Regions from separate parts of the Homo sapiens genome. Here regions 1, 2, 4, 5, 6 and 7 are each linked to region 3. Evidence: promoter capture Hi-C in 16 types of primary human blood cells and fetal thymus (Javierre and others, 2016). All regions are on one chromosome and are shown on one strand. The core of a region is centred on a gene start or on the middle of the fragment in contact, and the rest is flanking DNA. Distances in the headings are between cores, read along the strand shown.

Evidence for each region. Contacts are between HindIII fragments. The CHiCAGO score rates a contact against its expected background, and 5 or more counts as called.
Region 1: a contact is called between a fragment that was not itself captured here and the fragment with the promoter of FHIT in region 3, in 1 of 17 cell types (activated CD4 T cells). The highest score is 5.6, in activated CD4 T cells.
Region 2: a fragment that was not itself captured here is called in contact with the fragment with the promoter of FHIT in region 3 in 5 of 17 cell types (total CD4 T cells, naive CD8 T cells, total CD8 T cells and 2 more); the score reaches 7.9 in total CD4 T cells.
Region 4: a fragment that was not itself captured here is called in contact with the fragment with the promoter of FHIT in region 3 in 2 of 17 cell types (monocytes and total CD4 T cells); the score reaches 9.1 in monocytes.
Region 5: a fragment that was not itself captured here is called in contact with the fragment with the promoter of FHIT in region 3 in 7 of 17 cell types (non-activated CD4 T cells, naive CD8 T cells, total CD4 T cells and 4 more); the score reaches 20.2 in non-activated CD4 T cells.
Region 6: a contact is called between a fragment that was not itself captured here and the fragment with the promoter of FHIT in region 3, in 5 of 17 cell types (non-activated CD4 T cells, naive CD4 T cells, total CD4 T cells and 2 more). The highest score is 8.9, in non-activated CD4 T cells.
Region 7: a fragment that was not itself captured here is called in contact with the fragment with the promoter of FHIT in region 3 in 3 of 17 cell types (activated CD4 T cells, naive CD4 T cells and non-activated CD4 T cells); the score reaches 6.4 in activated CD4 T cells.

What each region holds. Positions count from the first base shown.
Region 1 is chr3:59,369,068-59,371,986 of GRCh38, reverse strand. The region is part of intron 5 of CFAP20DC-DT (CFAP20DC divergent transcript); the gene reads right to left. Among named protein-coding and RNA genes, the nearest start is that of CFAP20DC-DT, 280 kb to the right of the region's middle. The HindIII fragment of the contact is 708 bases long and covers 1,306-2,013 here.
Region 2 is chr3:59,409,942-59,413,014 of GRCh38, reverse strand. The region is part of intron 5 of CFAP20DC-DT (CFAP20DC divergent transcript); the gene reads right to left. Among named protein-coding and RNA genes, the nearest start is that of CFAP20DC-DT, 320 kb to the right of the region's middle. The HindIII fragment of the contact is 1,643 bases long and covers 613-2,255 here.
Region 3 is chr3:61,249,819-61,253,232 of GRCh38, reverse strand. It overlaps FHIT (fragile histidine triad diadenosine triphosphatase), which reads left to right and starts at 1,781. Exons shown (of 10, transcript NM_002012.4): 1 at 1,781-1,932. It overlaps LOC124909387 (a long non-coding RNA gene), which reads right to left and starts at 1,641. Exons shown (of 2, transcript XR_007095939.1): 1 at 1,606-1,641. RefSeq lists enhancers at 1,684-1,978, 2,043-2,102, 2,233-2,362, 2,503-2,632, 2,913-3,192. The HindIII fragment of the contact is 4,935 bases long and covers 462-3,414 here.
Region 4 is chr3:59,297,537-59,300,754 of GRCh38, reverse strand. All of the region lies in intron 4 of CFAP20DC-DT (CFAP20DC divergent transcript), which reads right to left. Among named protein-coding and RNA genes, the nearest start is that of CFAP20DC-DT, 210 kb to the right of the region's middle. The HindIII fragment of the contact is 890 bases long and covers 1,119-2,008 here.
Region 5 is chr3:59,446,603-59,449,621 of GRCh38, reverse strand. All of the region lies in intron 5 of CFAP20DC-DT (CFAP20DC divergent transcript), which reads right to left. Among named protein-coding and RNA genes, the nearest start is that of CFAP20DC-DT, 360 kb to the right of the region's middle. The HindIII fragment of the contact is 3,429 bases long and covers 1-3,019 here.
Region 6 is chr3:59,428,190-59,431,505 of GRCh38, reverse strand. The region is part of intron 5 of CFAP20DC-DT (CFAP20DC divergent transcript); the gene reads right to left. Among named protein-coding and RNA genes, the nearest start is that of CFAP20DC-DT, 340 kb to the right of the region's middle. The HindIII fragment of the contact is 2,035 bases long and covers 269-2,303 here.
Region 7 is chr3:59,462,220-59,465,456 of GRCh38, reverse strand. All of the region lies in intron 5 of CFAP20DC-DT (CFAP20DC divergent transcript), which reads right to left. Among named protein-coding and RNA genes, the nearest start is that of CFAP20DC-DT, 380 kb to the right of the region's middle. The HindIII fragment of the contact is 1,696 bases long and covers 476-2,171 here.

The DNA.
Region 1 (2,919 bases), core at 410-2,909, 1.9 Mb after region 3:
CACAGGAAGTCATCCAGTTTTTATTCTGAAAACAATACAGGTAACAAATCACAACTGTATTGTTTTCCCTGGGATGCTAACACAGATGTAACAAATGTGACAGAAGGAACAAATCACTATTGAAATCGCTAAAGCATTCAATCAAATAATTTTTCCAGACCACAAAATATCCTATTATGTGATGGTGACAAGTGCCCTTCAGAAGCCTTTAGTGCCTTCCAAGTTTCTCTGTGTAGCAGCATGAAGTGACTAGTCAGCAGGTACACCACATGGCTGTGAAAACCGCCCAGCTTTACACAACCAGGGAGAGTAACCATCTCCTTAACATTCTCATATCTGACGCTTAGTTTCCCCATTCAGATTTTCTTGGCTTAATGTCCTTATGTGACTAGTTTTCATTAGCCATTTCACAAATCTCTTTCCTCTTGCTCTTTTATTTTCTTCTATGGCTTTGGAGAGGGGTGGGGAATGGCAGATTTTCTAGAACTCCAATCTTTTGACTTAATTTATGTTTCCTACTTGAAAGAGTCCATTTCAGCAGGAGGCCCAAAGGGCTGACGTGGTTTCCCAGTCCAGATCAGAAAAGCCCCGCAAGATTTGACTTCATGAGCACTCGATACAGACAGGTCTACTCTCTTGCCCATTCAAGGGCAATTATCACAGATTTTAAATGTTGGACCTATTTTTAGGGCTCTTTCACTTAACATTAAGTAGATGGCCAATAAAAGGGATAATAAAAGGGATTTAATATTTAAAAGGGTCAATAGGTAATTTCTTAGGCCTTAAAGGAGACAGTAGCATAAAAATTATGAACTTGTTTGGATACACTTAGTTTAATTTCTATGTAGCTTCTTCAGAGCGTAGAACTTACTTATTGGGGTTGGAAACTACATTGGAGAGAAAACTGTACATATCCTAATGTCATTTTTTAAAAAATAATTTCATTTGGATTGAAATATTGTGTTTTTTAAGAGGAAAGGTGTTTTGTGTTTGTTAATAAATAGGTCAAAGAATAAACACAAGGAAGAAATGCAGAATTGCAGGACTGTACTCTGTTCTCATGAGCCACTTATTCTTTGATTGGATATAAAGGGCAAATTGGTTGGATATTAAATTCAGTGTGTACAAAACACAACAGGAGAGCTGTGTCCATCCTCACATCTCCGGCCTGACTTGGGAAGAGAGAGTTAAGTGCCACATTCCCCAGTTGGAAGGCTTTGATCTCAAATGGCCTCATTGCTAGGCCTAAGATGCCTCAACTGGAGGTCAACATGGACATCACTGGACATTGACAGTACAGAAGCTTCTAGACCAAAAGGAAAGTCATCAGAATTAACATAAAATAAACTGATGTATTCATATATATCTCCTTTTGCCATCATAACACCGAAAAAATACTTCTTTAACTGAGGTGGGCAAAATAGGTGATAGTAACTCATTTGACATGTGGGAAAATGAAGATTAAGTAATTTTCTACTAGCTCCCAAGTAGAAGAGGTCCAAATGAAAGTTAACTCCAATTCTATGTTGTCTCCTAACAATTTTAGAAGAGTCAGTTTTCATTGTAAGTATAACCATCCCATTTATCAGAACTTTCTTTCTACCAATATGGAAACATAACGTTTCCACCTTTCTGTCAATTCTGATCCATCGGTAATAGGAGACATCACCAATCAATCACAGCACTCCATCCCACTGGCACAAGACACAACCTGAGAATCCTTCTCTACCTACTTCTCCAAGCAGCCACTTCCTGACTGGGGTGAATGTGTGAGAATTTTTCCACCAGCACCAGAGGAGCTGTGAGGGCATGCATGGCAGGAATTTGACATCCTTGGTGTATCAACTCCTAGGTCATCAGTAATTGTATATATGTAAACAGCTCAACTAATGTCCTCAAATTCAGTCATCCAGTTGCCAAAGTATATTAGACACTGTGGGGAAAAGCAGTAGGGGTCAGGCATAAGTCTTATCTACAAGGCGCCTACATTCTATTAGGGAAGAACACTAAGCTTGGAAAAGCCTGTACTGCAGAGTGGAGAATTCTTAGTACCAGTCATCAGTGCTCTGTTCACAGAAAACCAAAGGAGTTCAGAGAAAGGTAGGATTACCCTCAGCTGAAGGGTGCACAAATAAAACTTCATGGCTTACATTGGAGCTGGGCTCTGCAGACCAGGTATGACTTGACCACGGGAGTGAGGAGGAGAAGGAGGAGAAAGGAATATTCCAGACACATCAAAAAGGCACAGAAGCAGGAAAATATAAGGAGTAGGTGGGAAACAGTGAATAGTTTGGTATTAGACTTGCAAGTGCTTAGGGATGGTAGAAAATAAAACAAAGAGTAAGTATGAGTCAGAGTAGCAGGCACTGTATACCAGGGTAAGGATTTGGAGATATATTTTATGGGCAATGGGGAGTTAATGATGGCTTTGAGAAGATGGGCGCTGTGATGAAACCTGGGCAAAGGAACAAGGTCATGAGCATCATGGAGAATCAGCTGAGTGGAAACAGGCCTGAAGCTCAAAGGGCATTGCAGAGGAGAATTGCAACTCCCAGCCTCACGTTGGAAAACTTTAGTGCCTCTTTTAGATAGTACAGCTGTAAGAGAAATAAATACTTCTGACCAGCTTTAGTACCTGCTTCTCTCTCCTGTATTCAGATTCTGTGTTGACCTGACCTGGAGGGATCTGGCTGCCACTTAAGGGAAGATAAAATACGACCAGCCCAGTAATGGAAACCAGCAGCACAAATGCAACTTGCTTCCTCAGCTACAGAAAAAAAAATACATCAAGAATTCTCTCTGCTTCACCTGAGCGGGAGTCCAATTTATCTGCCAGCTCAGGGCTTCACTATCTTTATGGAGCAGGGGAGGGAGAAAGAGGAAGAAGAGAAACAGGAAGAGGAGAAAGGTCAGGGCAAG
Region 2 (3,073 bases), core at 185-2,684, 1.8 Mb after region 3:
TGGCACCTAGCACAGAGCCTGGCTCCATACGTGTCTATTCCATGAACAGCTTGAGCTTTTCTTTGAAGGATGGATTAGATTCTTCCTGCCAGAGGGTAGTCTAGGAGCCTTTGCAAGAAGGGAGGATGGCTGAGCCAAGGTGTGTTGTGCGTGAGGAACAGAAAAGCAGCAGCAGATATGTCCATCTGGAACAGATCTTCACTTGCTGCATCCATTAGGACACCTTTCAGAGCCCTGCCTGGACGATTCATCACTGGATACCCGTTCCTTTAGCTCTGAAGTCCAGATTACAGGAATCTCTATTACCACTTAGTTACAAATCTTCTGATGACTAATGAGCTGCTGATGGTTTTAGACCGTTATGGACTAAGCTTGTTCACAGAAGAATAACGAATAAGGGACAGCAAATGGATATTTTAAAACCTTGATTCATTGGTCAAATGGAGACAATAACTAACACAATAGCAAGAGTGGCTTTTGGATGATTTAAAAATAAATATATCTTTCCTCCAGGCTCTAAAGCTCAGAGCCATCTTTTACTCAAGCTCCTTCTTTGCCTTTTCCATGAAATCAGCCACCAAGTCTTATGTTTGTAAGATATTTCTTGAAGCTTCTCTTTTCTTCTCTTTTCACTGCCCTGCACTGATATAAAATCATGACCCTAAGCCCAGAATATGGCTGAATGTTTGCACAAAAGCTCCCTTAGAAATCACTAGTGCAGGTCCCTCATTACAGAGACATGAAAGTAAGGCCCAGGGGGATAAGGGACTTTCCTAAAATGACAGGGCAGAGTTTGGATTATTCCCATTTTCCAAATGAGGAAACTGAGGCAGAGAAAGGTTAAGTAATTTGGTCAAAATTACACAATTAGTACATGGTAGGGCCAGATTTTACTATTCTTATAGGCAAGTCTACTCTCAGAACAAGTGTGCTATGTATCTTCTGTTCAAAAGAGTATAGTGTGGTAGAAATAAAATGAAGGTGCAAGTTCCAAATTCAAATCCTAGACCCTCTACATGCTAGCTGCAAGACCTTGGAAAAGTTCTTTTTCTCCATAAAGTGGAGATGATTATAGTTGTTTCCCCAGGTCATTGTGAGACTGAATGAGTCACGTGTATGGTAGGCCACACATAGTGCTTAGCTCATGGTAGTATCTAATAAATATTAGCCATGTTCTCCCTCAATGTTTGAACATCTAGGGTGTGAAGAACTTCTTAACTGAGTTACAAAGTTAGTAAATACTTATAAGTATTATTTTCAATGATTAATTCTGATTCTAAGATATCTCCTTTTGCTTCTTTACAGTATTTTTTTGAATGTGACTTTCACAAATTCTTTGACCTATTGCCCACCCAATTTGTGTCCTGTTATTAATGTCACATGAGAGGGGGTGGGGGATAGAAATAAATGTTGCCTTCCATGGCAAGGAGACAAGAGCTCTACAGAAAGGAAGGAACCACCTCAATCAATGTGAACAGAGGAAGGAAAATGGTAGAGTTTTAACAGGAGATTTTCCAGCATCGACCCCAGTAGGGGTACAAGGCCATGCCTCCTCCTCAATATCTCAGTCCCCTGTACTGCTTGAAAGAAGGCAAAGGTGATTCTTCCTGACTTGACAAGAGCTTGTGGTGAAAAATAAACACCACAGTTCAGTCAGGCCGTTACCATACCAACTGTAAGATCAGATGAACAAACATCTGAGAATGAATCAAATTACACAAAATCAAGAAGAAATAGATCTGCTGCAAGGTGAGTGGATGATAAAGGGAAGGCTTGATTGGGTTTCCAAGGACAAAACACTTGGGAAAAAATGATCTCTCTAGGCTCTCTGCATTGTTTTTCTTTCCCCCAATGCAACACATTTATTCACATCTCTGGACCTTTGTTCCTAAGTGTTCCAAGGAGTGTTCTCTGAATGAGAGTTTCAGCATCGCGTAATGTCAACATTGGCCAATGCAGAGATTGGGTAGAACTTCGAGTTGATTTGATCCAGCAGCTCCATCTCTTTTCCTGGGGTTCTTGTGAATCCCCTCTTCTCTCTGTGTGTTGGCTTCATTTTAGGTTGAAAGGGAGAAGGCTGTTATGGTTCTCGGCTTCACATCCATGCATGGCCCTGTAGTAGATTAGATTATTACTCAGAATATCACTTCCTCCCGATCACTCCCAGGGAAGTGTATGCTTTCCTACTCCACTGATGGCAGGCTTGGCCACGTGATCTAGTTTGGCTATTTAGCAGGTGGGCTTGATACTAAGCTTGGCCATTTGACTGTTTTTTGGCCAATGGGATGTTAGCAGATGTAACAGAGGCTAGGCTTGAGATATGCCTGTGTATTTCCACTGGTATTCTTATATCTCTGCCATCACCTTGAGAAGAACATGCACACTCTAGCCTTCTGGTCATGAGAAGGCATGGGAGACTTAGTGTAGAACCTAAGCTAGATGAGCTGACCCCCTAAACTCACTGTTGAGCCAAGAGACGATCAAGAGAACTGAGCTGGCCCAACTAGCAAGGCCTAGACCAGCTAACTAAATGCTCTTGTGGGGTTTTGCTATGCTGCGTTTTAGTGGCAGTAACTAACATCTGGTAACATCCAGTAATAGTAATATCCAGATCAGAAGAGAGAATCTCTTGCATCGTATTAACCTAAACCAGATCACGTGCCCAATCACTGGCAAGGAGGATGGGTTTATGCTTAGAAAAATAAGAAATTTTCCTAAAGCCGGGAGGGGTGAAGTCAGCTTTGCCTTGCATGTGAGCTACTTAGGGAAGAAGTGAATATCTCAGTAAAATTAGATATCTCTTTAACGGGGGAGACGGATGTTACAATGGCAACATCTTTCAACCCCACTGTTATCTGGACTCAATTCAAGTCCTGGGTCATATACAAGCCTACTGGAGGCCCCTAGCCTACCTTGTTTGCTTTTTCCTGTAGAGTCCTAACTGGACTGCTCTGTTAGTACAGAAATGGGTTATTGCACATTACTTTTCATGTAGCATCAAGAGAGTTTTGCTTTTAACAATTGAGCTTTGCTTTCATCCCAAATGTAGCAACTTGGTTGAAATCTTGGGCTC
Region 3 (3,414 bases), core at 532-3,031:
TCATGACATTTGCCTTTTGACTGCTAAGTAGAAGATGTAATGATTATAGGCTGATGCTTTCTCAGGAGGAGGAAAGTTATTGAGCTTTACAGTTTCAAATGCTTCTGATTTTCTTCCACGTTTAGTCTGGCTGCTGACACATGTGTTGAAATCTCTCATGTCGATCAGCTTGAGAATAGCTGGGACTGCTGAGCTAAGTCTGTGCTCATAAAAGCAACAAAGAATTGTATTACAGGAAATGACCCCAAATTGACAGAAGATTAGGCTAGGAAGCCTGAACAGGTGTTTTAATCTCTATGCACAAAATCAGTCTGTACATATATTGCTCACATTCCTGCTGTTTTAACTATATTTTTTTTTTCAATTTCACTTTGTTATTCACAATTTGATAATATTTTATGTGGCCATGGTGTCTGTGTGATGAACTATAATCCAATGTGACATTCTCTGAGAGTCAAGCTTCCAAGGACATCAGATTTTCACACCAGGACACTTTGTAGGACACCTTGCTACTCTCCATGGGATTCAAATATTAGAAATAATGAGAGATCTAAGACTTGATGTAATTGCCTGCATGTAATGAATCAGGCCAAATAAAAAAGTGAGAGACAGAGAAAGGAAATGGTGCTAAGGAAAATGGGGACCTATCTTAGTGTTTGTCTGAGAGAAAACTGCTCTTTGTTTTTCCCGATGTAATGGCAAGAGTCTGCAGCCAGGAATCTAGTCCTTGCTTAGGAGCTGCATGACCTTGTGAAAATTACGTAGGTGTTCTGCAATTTGTAATTGCATTTATTGTAAAATTAATTTTACTTTTCATACGTCACTAGACAGAGCATTTTGAGGTTAGGAATTGGGTCTGAATCAATGATTTCTCCAGCACCCACATGGCATTTGGCACAGAATACATCAATAATGATTTTGGATTAAACAGGGGAACAAGCACAAGGAACCATGGTGGTCAGAAACGGGTTGATCTGCACCAGAGAAAGGGAGACTAGGGGAGAAAGGTCACTCTAGATTTCGTTCAATTATTGAAAATACGGTGTATTTACTATGTGCTGGGCACTTTTCTAGGTGCTAGAAAGACTACAGTGACCAAAACAAAAATCCACATCTGCAGGGATCTTGCATTCTAGTGAGAAAGTAAGATGGTAAAAAAGATAAATACGTAAATTTTATACAATGCTTCGTAACGACAAATGCTAAGGAGAAAAACAGCACAGAAAAGACAGAAAGGAAAAGAGAAGGGGCGCATGTGGTGCAATTTTGTTAGGATGCCAGGGAGGGCTGAGCGTAGTCGTAAATGACCACATTATTTGATGGATCAAGCCAGGGACTGCAAGTCTGTGTTTCTGAGAGACACATAAAGAAAAGAAGGCTTAAGGAATCCAGAAAGATCCAGAGTGGGGAAATGAAACGAAAAGAAATCCAGCCAGTGGGAAGTCGTGAAGGGATAGTTAAACGCGTTTTGGGAGGAAAGAAAAAAGCAAAAGTGCGGTACAGCCTTTCGTTACACGTGAAAAGAATCATGTTTCTTTTTCTAGTTAGAAAAAGCCAAAGATTGTGCGATTTATGCCCCAAACCCCCTTGTAAGGGGATTCTCACCTCAACTTGTCTTCTGTGGTCAGTGTTTCCCGCCCCTGAATCAGGGTTACTGTCACTATGGCTTTCAATTGGCCCGGCGTAGGCGCATGCTCTGCGCGTATTGGCCTCCGCTCCTGTCCCCAGACAAGCGGCCATCTTGGGTCCCGCCCCTACCGTGGGGTCTTCTGGGAATTGCAGTCCCCGCTCTGCTCTGTCCGGTCACAGGACTTTTTGCCCTCTGTTCCCGGGTCCCTCAGGCGGCCACCCAGTGGGCACACTCCCAGGCGGCGCTCCGGCCCCGCGCTCCCTCCCTCTGCCTTTCATTCCCAGCTGTCAACATCCTGGAAGGTAGGGGCGGGGAGGCAAGCCCAAGTGGAATACTGTTTCTGGGGCGCGGGTCTGGGTTTCCACGCGCGTCAGGTCATCACCCCGGAGCCCAGTGGGGCCGGCGCCGCTCACGGGGCGGTGGGCTTCTGTCCCGAGTACTCTTCCGCCCCACGAGGGTCTCAGGGTGGGGACTCGGGCCCCCCAATTCCCAAGCACCGACCCTAGCCCTAACCCGTTCCTCCTCCACCGTGTTTATACATTGGGGAAACTGAGGCACGGGGCCACGCCAGCGGGTCCGGGGACGCCACAGCTCTTGGCTCTGGGGGTGTAGTCGGCACCCGCCGTTTTGGGATGGTTCGTCAGTTTCATAGACAAGTAGCGAAAATCCGTCCCAACAGGTCTGTGTTAAACACGCAGCTCTGGATTCCCCTAAGGGGTTGCTGAACACGTGCCCAGGACAGGAGCAAACCGGAGTATAGAGAAGGCAGCATTTTGGGAGATAATTTTACATTACTACTTCAAAAACAGGCAAAGAGGCATCGAATTTATTGTTGTGGGAGAACTCATCGGTACTTGGTCGGACTTTCTTACACTTATTTTATGGTTGTTGTTTTTATTTTTAGCGTCAAAGGGGGGAATTTTAAAGGTATATCCAAGTTGGTGGTGGTGGGGGGTAAGGAGGCAGGTTAGTGGAACTTGAGATGCATCTGCAGATTTCTCTGTAGGCTCACATTCTGCCCTCGCTGTGTTACCTTGGAACAGCCACTCACAGCGCTTATCTGGGAAACAAGGAGCTCAATGCTCCCAGGTCAAGTGGCCAAAGGATGTTGCCTGAAGCCGAAATCTAAATTGAGGTTATGCTTGTGAAAGTTTACCACTTGCAGATTTACTGCTATTATTATTCTGGTCTCTCAGAAATGTGCTGGGACCAATAGAAAATACTCACAGTGGTTGTTTTAGTAAGGTTCTGACCTGGGCCGGGCCCAGACTACCAAGGGTGGTCCCTACTCGCACCTGATGTTAAGCCGGATCTACCTGAACTCTCCCTCCTTGGCTTCAGCCTGCGGCCTGAGGCCTTGGCCGCGGAGGCTTCTGGGAGTTGCAGTCCCGCCTCTTGTTTCTCGTCGGGCAGGTACTCCACCTCGTGGCGTGCCATTTTGCACGGCGAGATGTCTCCTGGGAGACGAAGTCTCGCTTCTAGCCGTTCTGTAGAGCAGCCGCTTGACTCGGAACTACAACTCCCATGTGGACCTGCGTTCATGGCTGCCGGCCTGTGTCCACCTGCTGCAACCTGGACTAGAAATATTTAGTAAAGAAAGAAGTCTAGGGTTTGTGTGTGTGTGTGTGTGTGTGTGTGTGTGTGTGTGTGTGTGTGTGTGTGTGTGTGTTGTTATTGATTGCATATGCTGTTCTAAGTGTTAGATATGGGATTGTTGTATACGGTGTTCCAAGTATTAACGTACATGCTTCCAAAACCACTAACACTTGACCATTTAGAACCTG
Region 4 (3,218 bases), core at 314-2,813, 2.0 Mb after region 3:
ACCTCCCCAACACTCACAGGGCTCCAATCTCTCTGGCCTTCTCTGTGTTCCTTAAACACACGAAGTTCCTGACTGCCAGGGAGTTCTTTGCCCTGTGTCCGCTCCACCTGGCATATTTTTCCTCTATAATCTGCTCATCTTATTATTTAGGTGTTGGCTTAAACACCACCTCTTCAGACTTGCTTTTTCTGACATCTCTGTCTAAAGCAATCCTCCAGTCCCTCTCTATGACAACATTCTACTTTTTATTCATAGCACTTATCACGATCTGATATTTTATGATTTATTTATGTGTTTATTGATTTGTTTTTTCATTCCTGCCATTAGAATGCAGGCTCCTTGAGTGCAGCAATTTTGTCTGTCTTATTCTTTGGTGAATCTCCAGCACTTAAAATGATGCCTAACATAAAACAGAAACCAATAATACATAAACACATTTATCAAATAAATGATTTTATATCCACATGATGGAGCCCCTTAGATAAAGCATACAGATAATTTAATTTCTTCTTTTATATTGGATGGAGTGTCTTCATCACAAGAAATATACTCTTTATTGAGTAGATGAGGAATGTTGACTTCATTTATGCCATACTTTTGTAATTTTATTGACCTTCGCTATTGTGGTCTTGCCACAGCTAGCAGCTTGTTGCCCACCCTTTTCAAGAATGAGAAGAGACGTTTTGATTTGGGTCCTATTGTAAGCTGCAAAAAAAAAATTTCCCCCATTGGATACATTCTGAATTTTTCCCCTTGTACCTATTCGTATAGCACCAAGATCTAGTTAGTTTCATAAAACATTCAGAGGTCAAAGTTTCTGAATTTGCAGAGGGATGGCTTCCTAGGACTTATTCTCAAGTCTATCACTTCATGTACCAATAACTATAAAAACAAAACCTAACCTACATGGGGCCTGGGATAAGTAGAGTAATTTAATTTAAAAGATAAATTATGCCAATAATGTACATTATCACATGCCGAAGAGTCACCAACCTGCTTTAGTTCAACTTTGTTACCAAATTACTCATCTTAATTACTGTCTTCTTCTTTTCCTTATCTCATTTTTCCCTAGTCATATTAATGGTCACATAATAATATCAGACAATGTTCACTAAGCTTAACTCTAAAAATAATGGCTGTTTTAAATCAGAGTTAATTAGTATGTCAAGAAGTTCAGGTAATTATAAGGCCACGTGATTTAAAAAAAAAAAAAAAAGAGGCATTGGGAAAAAAAGCCACTTTACCAAATGCTACACTCATGATTCTATAAAGTATTTTTAATATTTTTCTTAATATTGCCACTGAAAACTAAGTAACAAATTCTTCAGAAATCATTTATCATTGCTAACTACAGGCGAGTGAGCTCCCCCTAATCCTGCAATCACCGCAGAAGATAGATTTAACATTAATTTATGAATCGCAGTGTCGTTTCTCTTCTAGGTTTAATAGTGAATCATGGCATATACTATTTATATTTCATCACACATAAGGAAGGTTGTCAAGAGCAAAGATCAGAGTAACACAATTCTCTTTCCCATCCTCATCAGCAGCTCCTGGAGAACACACACTGGTTTGAGGAGAATTGGAAGGCACATTGTCCTTGGATCTATGTGGGAAGTGTTCTGGGACTTCAAGGGGAAGGAGCAAGTCTGAGGGATGCCTCAGAGAGCTGCATACATTTGGAATGAGCATCATAAATAGAAGACCTGCTCTTGTGGGTATCATGGCCTGCAGACATCCATCTGTGGGCCCGCTGAGGGTACCTGTGACCTCTCTCTCAATCCTTCACAAAATAATCACAATTGCAGTAAAATGGAGAAAGAAAAAAAATGATTTGCCTTTGTTTCAATGTTTCCTGAAATACATTACTGCTAGAAAAATAAGCCTTATCTCTTCAAAGTCAACACTAACAAAGAAGCCAAAGGTGGGGGAAAAAAGGGAGAGCTGGAAAACACAAGTAAGACGAGCCCCTCAGTGCAGGGATAGATCCTTAGAGACATATGAAGCTTTGGGTCATTGGGTTAAGTTGTTAACAGGGCAGCAGAGAGATCATGAACAGGCAGACCTGGGACAACCTGCCGCCGGCAGTGCTGAGGGTTCCGCTGGGGAGCAGGTTGAAGCCCTCTATCTCATGACCCCCTGCGAAATCTGAGGTAGCCTGACTTCAGGTTGCAAGACGCCAGCCTACAATATTGCCTATTTTCAACTATATCAAGTTCTCAAGCTCAGGGCAAAATTGTGAACATTTTCAATCTATTAATATTTATTGAGTACCTGCTAAGTTCAAGGTACTATACCTATGGACTGCATAAAAGTACCTTTGCTTTGGGCTCCTATGACTGTCTTTCTGTTCCTTGTAACAATGTGTCACACTGATTATAACTGATTGTTTAACTGTCCATCTTTACATCAGAGCTCAAAGCCTGGAACTGTGTCTATCCTGATCCCATTACCTCTCCAAGGCCTAGTACATAGGAGGTGCTAAAAAAAAATGTGTTTGCAGGGCCAAGATGGCAGACTAGAAGCAGCTCATGTGTGCCACTCTCATGGAGAGGAAACCAAAGGGCTGATGACGACTGACCCTGCAGGCCAATCATCTGAGAAACCATGTCAGGATCCATCAAGGCATCAGGGGAACACAGAAAGCAGAGGAGCAAAGCTGGGCAACAGCCTGTCTGGGCTCAGTGCAGGGCCAAGAGAACCACTACAACACAGGAAAGAGTAAGTGAGTGAAAGCCCCCTTTATTGTCCATATTGTCCATAATGTTATCAGCATTTTGGGCAAAGCCATTCAACAAGTCTCTAGGGAGTTCCAAACTTTCCCACATTTTCCTGTCTTCTGAGCCCTCCAAATTGTTCCAACCTCTGCCTGTTACCCAGTTCCAAAATTGCCTCCACATTTTTGGGTATTTTTCCAGCAACTCCCCACTCCCAATACCAACTTACTAAATTAGTTTGTTTTCATACTGCTGATAAACACATACCCAGCCCAACCACACACAAGGGGTTTCATGCTCTCCATAGGGACCTGTGCAAGACTGGGAATGGGAGAATCCCCATCGTCCACCAATCCCCCCCTACCATGCTTCAAGACTGAAGCAGAGAGCCACCTGGATGTTTTATGGTAGCAAGTCACAGTCCAAGGGGATCTCTACTGGCCTTGCATTCCAGGAATAAAGCCTATTTGATTGAAGTGGATTAGTTGTTTGATGTGCTGC
Region 5 (3,019 bases), core at 454-2,953, 1.8 Mb after region 3:
CATCCCTAAATTGGGTCTGTGGTGTTATGCACACACAATGGACTCAATGCAGTAAACATCTGTTGAGAACCTACATAATCCTCTGTGTTTCTAGACAAGAAAATGTTTCAAGAACAGAATCTTAGTAGAGCGTACATATGAGTTTCTGGGGTGGACTTGTCCTCAGGCTGTGGCAGTCCCTGTTTGCTCGGAACCCCTTCCAGCTCCTTCCACAGCTCCTCCTCTGGTGTGTTTACTGTGTATTTTCCTTCCAGCTTGTTTACAATCACAGCCCTGGCACCTGGAAGATTTTCCGTGTGAGTTGAACCTAGATGGTCCCAAGCAAATACGAATCTTGCCTGTATTTAGAGATCCAATGTCTAGACTTCCATAAGCTGATAGCCACTCCCCTCACAACCACCACTGATACATACTGAGCACTTATTTTGTGATGGGCACCATTACAAACCTTTGTAGGCAGTATTTTGACTCCTCACAAACCTCTGAGAAAAGTATATGGAGAGAACAAACCCATTTTACAGCTAAGGAAATTAAGGCTCAGAAGTGCTGTGTTTGCTGAAAGTGAATGATCAGAGCTGTGAGTACAGCCTGACTTGCCTTTTAACCATTCTCCTCTACTGCCCCTCACGGAGGCCATCTCCCAGGGAAGGATGTTCTTAACAACTAGGGCACTTTCATCACAAACTGTAAACCAGTGGCTGCTATACAATTATGTGTGTGTGCAAGTAAATTATTGATGGGGACTCTCGAGCTCATACCTCTCTTGAAAAGGGTGTAGTCTCAAAGGGTTTCTATAGTTTTCTTCAGGTAGTAAGCTCCCTGGGCCTAGGAATCAGGTTATTTCGTGTATCACTATCTATTCAGCACCTAGCATGCACCCAGTACTTTGTAGGTTTAATCATTATGTGTTAAATGAATAAATGAATGCGTGGGGCTTTGGTATAATCCAAGAGAAAAGTCACGATTATAAAACAAGCTAGAACAGGATGACCTCCACAGAGTAAGGGCCATGGGGTGTCAGAGATGGATTAAAGAGGCCAAAGGTCACTGGGCACAGTGGCTCATGCCTGTAATCCCAGCACTTTGGGAGGCCAAGGGGGGCGGATCACAAGGTCAGGAGATCGAGACCATCCTGGCCACCGTGGTGAAACCTCGTCTCTACTAAAAATACAAGAAAATTAGCCAGGTGTGGTGGCACGCACCTGTAGTCCCAGCTACTTGGGAGGCTGAGGCAGGGGAATCACTCAAACCCAGGAGGCTGTAGTTGCAGTGACCCAAGATTGTGCCATTGCACTCCTGGCAACAGAGCAAGACTCCATCTCAAAAAGAAAGAGGCCAAAGGTCTATGTGCAAGGTTCCAAGGTGAGGCTCAGCCAGGGGCCTGGGCAAGTCTGACCCTCTGCCACCCTGCACCCCATGGGAGACATGGAGGGAATGATACCCAGAGTTTGGGGGAGGTCAAGACAATATTAAGAGTGCCAAGCATATTAGTGTTGGCTTCAGGGAGAAGGCAACATCAGAACCGTGACCAGATTTAATGAGGAGATGGAGGAGGTATTCTTTCTAAGCAGAATAAATGGTCTAAATACAGACGAAAGTTGGGAAATTACGGGGCAAGAACAGGAAATAGCATGGTTATTTGTCGGTAAGCAAGAGTGTGTGGAAGGAAATAGGATGGGAAAGTTGAGTGGCACTCCAGTCCAGCTTGAATCCTACACAAAGAATGGTGGGGTTTATTCCATAGAAAGATATTCTCCAGATTGGGGAACACACGTGTTACTCACTGGTGTACATGCATGGTGCAAGGTGGTACAGAGACCGCCTACCTATCAATTCCCCTTCAATCTTTGATGAAGCCAAGGAGAAAGTCTCAGTTGATGTGGGTCTATCTATAACAACTAATCCATGATAATTATACTAGTCAGGGTCTCCACAGGAGAGGTATGACCTATCAAAGCAGGATAATCCAAGTGGGTGTCATAAAGGGACAATCAGCTAAGTATGGGTACAGGGGAACCACAAGGGCAACACACTGACCCAGGGCTTGTAAAGGGAGAGCTGTCACCATTTCCAGGCTTGAAGGGACAAGGGGAGGGTTTAAGAACAAGCCATGTTAAAATGGGCAGCAATCTTTTGTCAGGGGATACTGCCAGGCTGTGGTGACCCTGCAGGGAGAGAGGCAGGGAACAAAGCCCTGGACCCATCGTTCCCTCCTTCCTAGACTCTGCTGGGCTGCCATAGGCTGAGGCCAGCTGGAAACCAGAAAGTAAGGGAACTCACTGACCTGTCCTCGGGCTCAGCCTCCTGGGCAGACAACAAGAAGAAGAGAGAAAAATAGATCTGGAGGGACAAACAGTCACTGAATCATCACCCACCTTTGTAAACACAGAGAAATCAGGCTTCAGGCTTTGAGCCTCAGGCAACACTATCTTGCTGGAAGATAATACTTTTGTTTTCATTGCATTTATTTTTATAGTTTCTATTATGATAGATGGTACTGGTTTTCCATTTACTTAGAGATAAAGTTTCCCTTTAGAATACATTTAAGATTTTTTTTTAAGTGAGCCTATTTAAAGATAAATATGAAGTAAACCACAGCACAGATGGAAAGGGAAAATAGCAAAGATAATGGAGGTGGTATGACTAATGTTTGGGAAAGCCTCATAGAAAACAGGGAGCTATGGACAGGTTTTGAGCAGGAGAGCGATAGGATCAAGGCTCTGCTCTGGGAAGCTAAACGTAGCTGCAGCATATACAATAGACAGCAGGGAGATGGGAGGTAGGGAGGCCGTAGGCAGTGCCAGTGGGGCTAGAGAGGTGGGGATGCAGGGGAGAGGATTACGGGAGAAAGAGTAAAATCAACAATATTTAGTCAGTCATTGCATGGAGGGTAAGCAAGATGCAAAGCAAAAGATAATAACTGCTGCCCAAATTGCCTTTAAAAACATCTATTTCCAGGAGTATTAGAACTGATGCAGGAAATAATGTGACAGCAATCCAAGTCTACTAACAGGTAGAG
Region 6 (3,316 bases), core at 37-2,536, 1.8 Mb after region 3:
AACAGTAAATGTTATTATCATTTAAATTATTTGAATCTAGAGTTTTCTGATGCTTATCGTCCAAAGCATTGAAATCACCTCACAACATCTCATGGCTCCTTCTCATCATAGAGGGCCATGTAAATGTCCCCTCCTCAGAGAAGCCTTCCCTGCTTCCACTAAGGAAATAGCCTGTGGCACCCCCCCACCCCCTTAGTTACTCTCATTAGCATGTATCACTATCTGTAATTCTTTTACTAGGCAGTTTCCCCTTGCTCAAGCATAAGCTTCCTGAGATCAGGGCGTTGTCTCATGCACCTGTTACCCCAGGGCTTAGAACACAGTCTGACAGCAAGTAACACCTCATAGACATTTATGGAATAACAAAATACTACTAATATTTAACTCGTATTTAATCACATTATTGTTTTATTATTAATATGAATATTTTATTAGAAAATTGAATTATTGGTAATTTATTAACAAAACATTAAAATTAATTATGAAGATTGCTAAAAGACATTAATATTTACTTCTAATAAATATGCATAGTGTTTATTATTCAAGCTAACATTTTTATATGTGTTCAGTTCATGCCATACTCAGTGCCTGAGCTTATTATACATCCCTCAATTAACCCTTATAATTAATTATTATTAGTAGTATTAGGTAGGTATTATTGTCATTACAGAAGATTATCAAAGTTCATTTTCTTTTAAGCAATCTATACTACCAGTACAATCTATGGCAATACAATAATAATGATAATAACAATATATATACTTAAAGACCAGCAAACTTAAATTGGACTCATTGTTTTGCACCCATGACCTTTCTAGTGGGAAACAGCACTGAACTGCAATATTTTTGTCCCAGTCCTCAGCCTCGCCTCCCTGCAGGAGGAACGTCTAGCCAGAAGACGAGGAGGGAGCATGCTCCCCAGGGGGACATTTCAGACCCAATTTTCCTCTGCAGATAATGATGGTTATAGCATCTGGCATCTGACTTGAGGCCTGCCCTTTCCTCCTGAAGGACACCCCGTGGTGACACACAGTAATTCTCCAACTCCTCTTGGGGTCCTAGACTTATGCAGAGAGGCTACAGCAAATCTCATGTTCTCTTTGATAACTTCTGTAAGAGCTGGCCAATTACCGTCTTCCCCAAGCGCGCTTCTGGGTTGCTGGTTGACTCCATTCCCACCCCCTTCCACCCCCAAGACTCCCCACCCTTTCAGCCAAAAATGTCATGTTCTGGTTTCCAGATGATCTCTGCTTTAAATTGAATAATTTTCTATAACACTATCTCCCTGTGCCAAATTCCTGCTGGTGTCTCAAAAAGGGCATATATGTAAGAAGTAATGAGCATTCCTTTAGGTCAATAGCCTCTGTCATTCTTTTCTAAATTTATTTTTTATTTTTATTATATATATACACGTACACCTATAATTGTTTTTTTAAGATAGAGCCTCGCTCAGTCATCCAGGCTAGAGGGCAGTGGTGTAATCTCAGCTCACTGCAACTTCTGCCTCACCGGTTCAAGCAATTCTCATGTCTCAGCCTCCTGAGTAGCTGGGATTACAGGCATGCACCATGTCTAGCTAATTTTTGTATTTTTAGTAGAAACGGGGTTTTGCCATGTTGGCCAGGCTGGTCTCAAACTCCTGACCTCAGGTGATCTGCCCGACTCAGCCTCCCAAAGTGTTGGGATTACAGGCATGAGCCACTGCCCCCGGCCCCTGCCTTCATCATTCTAACAACAGTTTTCAAAGCAACGATGTTTATCTTTTTATTTATAGTAAATTTGAAGGATGTATTTGGGATGATCTAACCTAAAATATATACTTTGTGGGCTCTGTAGCATCCCCAAAATTTACTGCAGGCATTCCTGGAACTCTTCAAAGAGATGAGGGGAGGGGACTTATACTTTGGTCCAAAGCTGTCCAATAGAATGCTCTGTGATAATGGAAGTGTTCCATATTTGTACTGAGCAATAGAGTACCCACTAGCCATTTGTACCTATGGGCCATGTAGTGGCTGGTATGACTGAGGAAGCAGAATTTTAATATAATTAAATTTTACAGCCACATATGGCTGGTGGCTACCACCATGGACAGCACAGATCTGAGGATGCCGATTGATGACAGAGTTGTTTCACGATCACAGCTGTGCTCCTGGGAGTGAAGCAGCAGTGAGGACACTTAATCATCTTCCTCTGCAACATCTAGAAACCAGCCAGTAGTTATTAATGATAAAATACATTATCATTGTATGTAATGATATATAACATGTGTAATGATAAAATAACAATACACTGTACATGAAGCTTTCATACCAGCTCACTTTAGTCTTCACAAAAGTCCTCTTAGGTCCTATCACAAATTTAGAGACCGAACAGTCATATTGCTCGACCGAAGACACAGAGATCTTTGGCTCAAGGTCCTGTGGCTCAATGTTCTGCTATGCACTGCTTGGTTGTTTTCTAATTTACAAAGATTCTATAAGCAAGATTGTTCCAGTTAAAGATCAGACAGCTGCCACCTAATCAGAAAGCAGGAAAAGTGTAGCTCAGCTTAGCTGCAAGGGCTCTGCTAGTGGGTAAGAGAAGAGAGGGTGAGAAGGGAGGGCAGATGAGATGTACAGAGCCTGGAGGACATGACGAGATGCAGACCACCACCACTGACTATGCTGGGCGCTGGCCACGGGGCTTTGGATTCATCCCATTGTGTGAAGGCAGTATTATTTTCCCGTTTTCCAAATGAGAAAAAGGAGTGCTCTGAGAGTTGACACTAAGCCTGCTAAGATTTGTTCAACTTATACAACGGACAAGATTCTAGCCCATGTGCTTCCAGCACTCCAGACAGCCCCTACCCAAGTGAATGGCCAAAGCCAGATCAAACCTAGAGCAGAAACAAAAAAGCAGGAGAGTTGAGGTCTTTGTCAGGATGACCAGAGAAAGGCTAGTGCTGTCTATAATGCTCCTAAAATTCTCTAACACACCCTCTTCTTGCAAGCTGAGGCCAGAGTTTCAGGACTCACATAAGTTAGTTTTTATTCATGTTCTGGGACAAGTGGTGCCAGGATGCTGGATGCATGGGAGAGAGACCAGCACAGCCTCCATGTGACTGATGGTTCAGAACTGCTCTACTGGAAACGATATCGCAGAGAAAGATGAGTCTGGTGTTTAAGATCTGGGATCATAGAGTCCCCAGACCAGAAGGATGACAATCTAGCCCGTGCACACCTCCTACCCCCAAGGGACTGTATCTAGACTAGAGGCCATTAACCTGTCCCCCCTGAGATTGCTGTCAGGGCCAAGGCTTTAGGAACAAAGAAGGGAA
Region 7 (3,237 bases), core at 74-2,573, 1.8 Mb after region 3:
TTACAAAGTTTTCTGGACTTTATCCCATTTGAGGTTCTTATCAGCTATCCCGATGAAGGATTTGGTATGTGGCTAATTAAAGGCTGAGGTGAATTGGTGCCCTATGCAGATAAAGGGATGGTCTCTGCTTGGCCCTGCGAACCCAAGGCACTCTCCCTTTCCATCTGAGACATGGTAGAGTGAGAGGGCTGTAAGGAAAGTAGCCTTTGATCCTTTGCTATTCTGCCGGGGAGATGGAGTTTTTCCTTTAGGTTCAGCTTTAGGAAGTTGGTGTTAATAGGCCTTAGGTTTCCTGCCCCCAGACCTTGATGTTTCTCTTTTAGGAAGTCAGCACAAATTGGCCTTAAGTTCTCTGTCTCCAGACCCTATTCTCCTGCCTCAATAATGTTTTTAAAATATTTATGAATTTGTGTTGGGCCACCTTCAAAGCCATCTTGGGTCACTTGGAGCACGTGGGCTGCGGGTTGGACAAGCTTGGCCTACATAATGGATCAGCAAAAAACAAATAACAACTGGACTTAGTTGAGAGAAGGAAAATTGGGCCACCAAGAATAAAAGTTTCTGGGGTTTGTTTAATAGGGCTGGGGAATGGTAAAAAAAAAACAAAAAACAAAAACAAAAAAACAACAAACCAAACAAAACCCACTCCTGTGTTGATAGTTTTGCCCCGATCATAGTTATTAATCTTTTCTCTTTTTTTTCTCATTTTTCTGTAGGTTCTTCAGCTATGCCACTTCCCCTCTCTCCATGCCTAGATGGGTTATGCTGACTTTCTACTTTAACTCTTCTTTCAAAGCCAAGCGGTATCAAAATAATCACGTAATTCCATAAGAAGTGTTCTTCTGCAGGAAGAAAGTGTAGCTGAGATAGTTAATTTTCCGGACAACACAAGAGTTCCCTTTCAAATCACTGAAGTCAGAGGCATCTGATAACAAATGGAGTGTGCCATTTTTCTGAAGCGAGAGACAACCCTGGAGCTGATTTTCTGTGTGTGTAACAATGGTGTCTACAGGCAGAGCTGAGCCTCCGCACAGGAGTCTGCACATCTTTGCGTCTGAGACAGTTGGTACAAGTCAGAACAATTCACTGGAATTCCCCAAGGAATTAAATCCTCCAGGATCTTTAAAGGCACAGACATAAAGGTGCCATTTTAAAACCCCAAAGAATTTACACCAAACTTTTTAACATTCCCGTGGGTCTTCGTTAATGATCATATGAGGTTTCCTTAAGTAGCCTGCAAGGAGGGACCTGGGGGGAGTCTGATATGTAGAATATGAGAGAATCTTCAACTAGGGAAGCACCTAGAGATAGGTGACAGTATCCCAGCGGTGTGCAGACCCTCAGGACAAACATGAAATATCTTCTTAAACCTCAGTCTAACCAGAAGATTTAGGGGAAGACCCAGTAGATAAAGTAGTGGAAAATTGCCATTTGTTTTGAATTACAACACAGGATTCAATGAGGTTTAAGCAGTGTAGGGGCCAAAGGAAACTTGGCCCTCTGAAGGTTCACTGAAAAATCAACTCAAAAGGCAGATTAATACAAGAATAGGCATACACATTTATTTAATGTGTATACACAGGGTCCTTCAGAATAAAGACCCAAAGAAACAGAGAAAATTGTCCATTTTATGTTTAGGTTCAACAAATTATGGACAGTATGTGTGGAAATATGATTGGAGGAAAAGGCTATGATCTAATGCTAATAGGCTGAGTGGGGAAACCCAGCAAGGCTGTCTGTCTAGATTCTTCTTGGTCTTTCTGAGCAGCATTCCTTCCTTCTGGGTGTGGGGCAGGACCCTCTCTGGAATAGGGGCCTTGTGACCTACAGTCAAACAAGGTGGGGCAGATGATTTATGGCCAGCTTTTGTACAGAAAAGCTGTACAAAATTAGAGGGAAAATTAGAGTAGTATTTTTAGTTTTTTATGGCTGGCTTTAGTGAAAAGGGGCTTGGGTTTCTGTGGCTCATGATGGGGAGGACAGAGTCTAGTTTCTATGGCTAGCCTTGTGGGGAGAATAAGTCTGTGAGACAGGAGGGCAGAGAAAAACGTTTGCCTCTGAGGCTTCTGCCGAAGCCTTCATTTGGGGATATCGTTTGCTAAGCCCCAACAGCAGTATACTTTCATTCTCTTCAGCTATTACGGATAATCGGGGGTAGCCTTTGAGAAGCTTCTCTGCCTATTCTAGAGCTTTCAAATTCCATCTACCCATCTATTTGGGTTCATAGACTCTGCTTTTCTAAGATGGGCATTAAAACTACATATTTGGTTTACATCAAAGGATGATTAAAGAAATCAGACACCCATTGTTACTGTTGTATTTGTAGAAAGATGTTGTCTATTATACCACCAGTGACTCTCCTGTTTGAAGGCTACATTTGCAATTTATTATATATTTCTGTACTTCTTTGGAAAAAAAGAGTATGTTTATTTCATTTTGACATTGAGAAGTATATGAATATTTCCCCCCTTTTCCCTTTGGCTTCCGGAAGGCTCAAAACCAAGCTTGAAACAGTTAACAATATCACAGATCCTGAGATCTTGCCTTGTTAGTGTTATTCCTCCCCCCATCATAAACTTTTCCTCTAATTTATATATTTCCAGCCCATGATCATCTTTAAGTGTCTATATTTCTTAATCATTTTGTAAAGTATGTTTTTATATTAAAAGCTTCAATCCTTTATGGAATAAATTAGGAAGTAAACATTTAGATGCTGTATATATTAGAAGTGCATGGGGCCTTACATGATTTAATTGAGTCCTCCCAATGATGCATGAGGTAGGTGTTCCATAAATGTGCAGTAACTACTCAAGGCCATACACCAAGAAAATGACTGAGTTGAGAATGAACTTTTATTTCTCTCACTCCATGCCCCATGGTCTTTCCATCAGTTGGTTCCCAGGAAGAAATGCCCAGAGTTCAGTCAGAGGCACACAGATTGCCCCACCATGCCTGCCCCTGCCAGCACCCATCTTCCTTGTCTGGCATGTTTAGATGGGCACCATCATGTCCTTCCAGATTCATGGATTCCCACATTTTCAGTGGGGCCTCCATTCATCAGTGGCCCGTGACAGAAACCTAACTCTAATTTAGCAAAACATAAACAAAAAACAAAGCAAAGCAAAAATAGCAATCTATTGACTCAGATGTGGGAATGGGAGGTGGGATCTTCAGGTGTAGAGTTCTGTATCCCCTCTCTTAGTTCTGCTTCCTTCTACTTGACTTCAAATTCAGCAA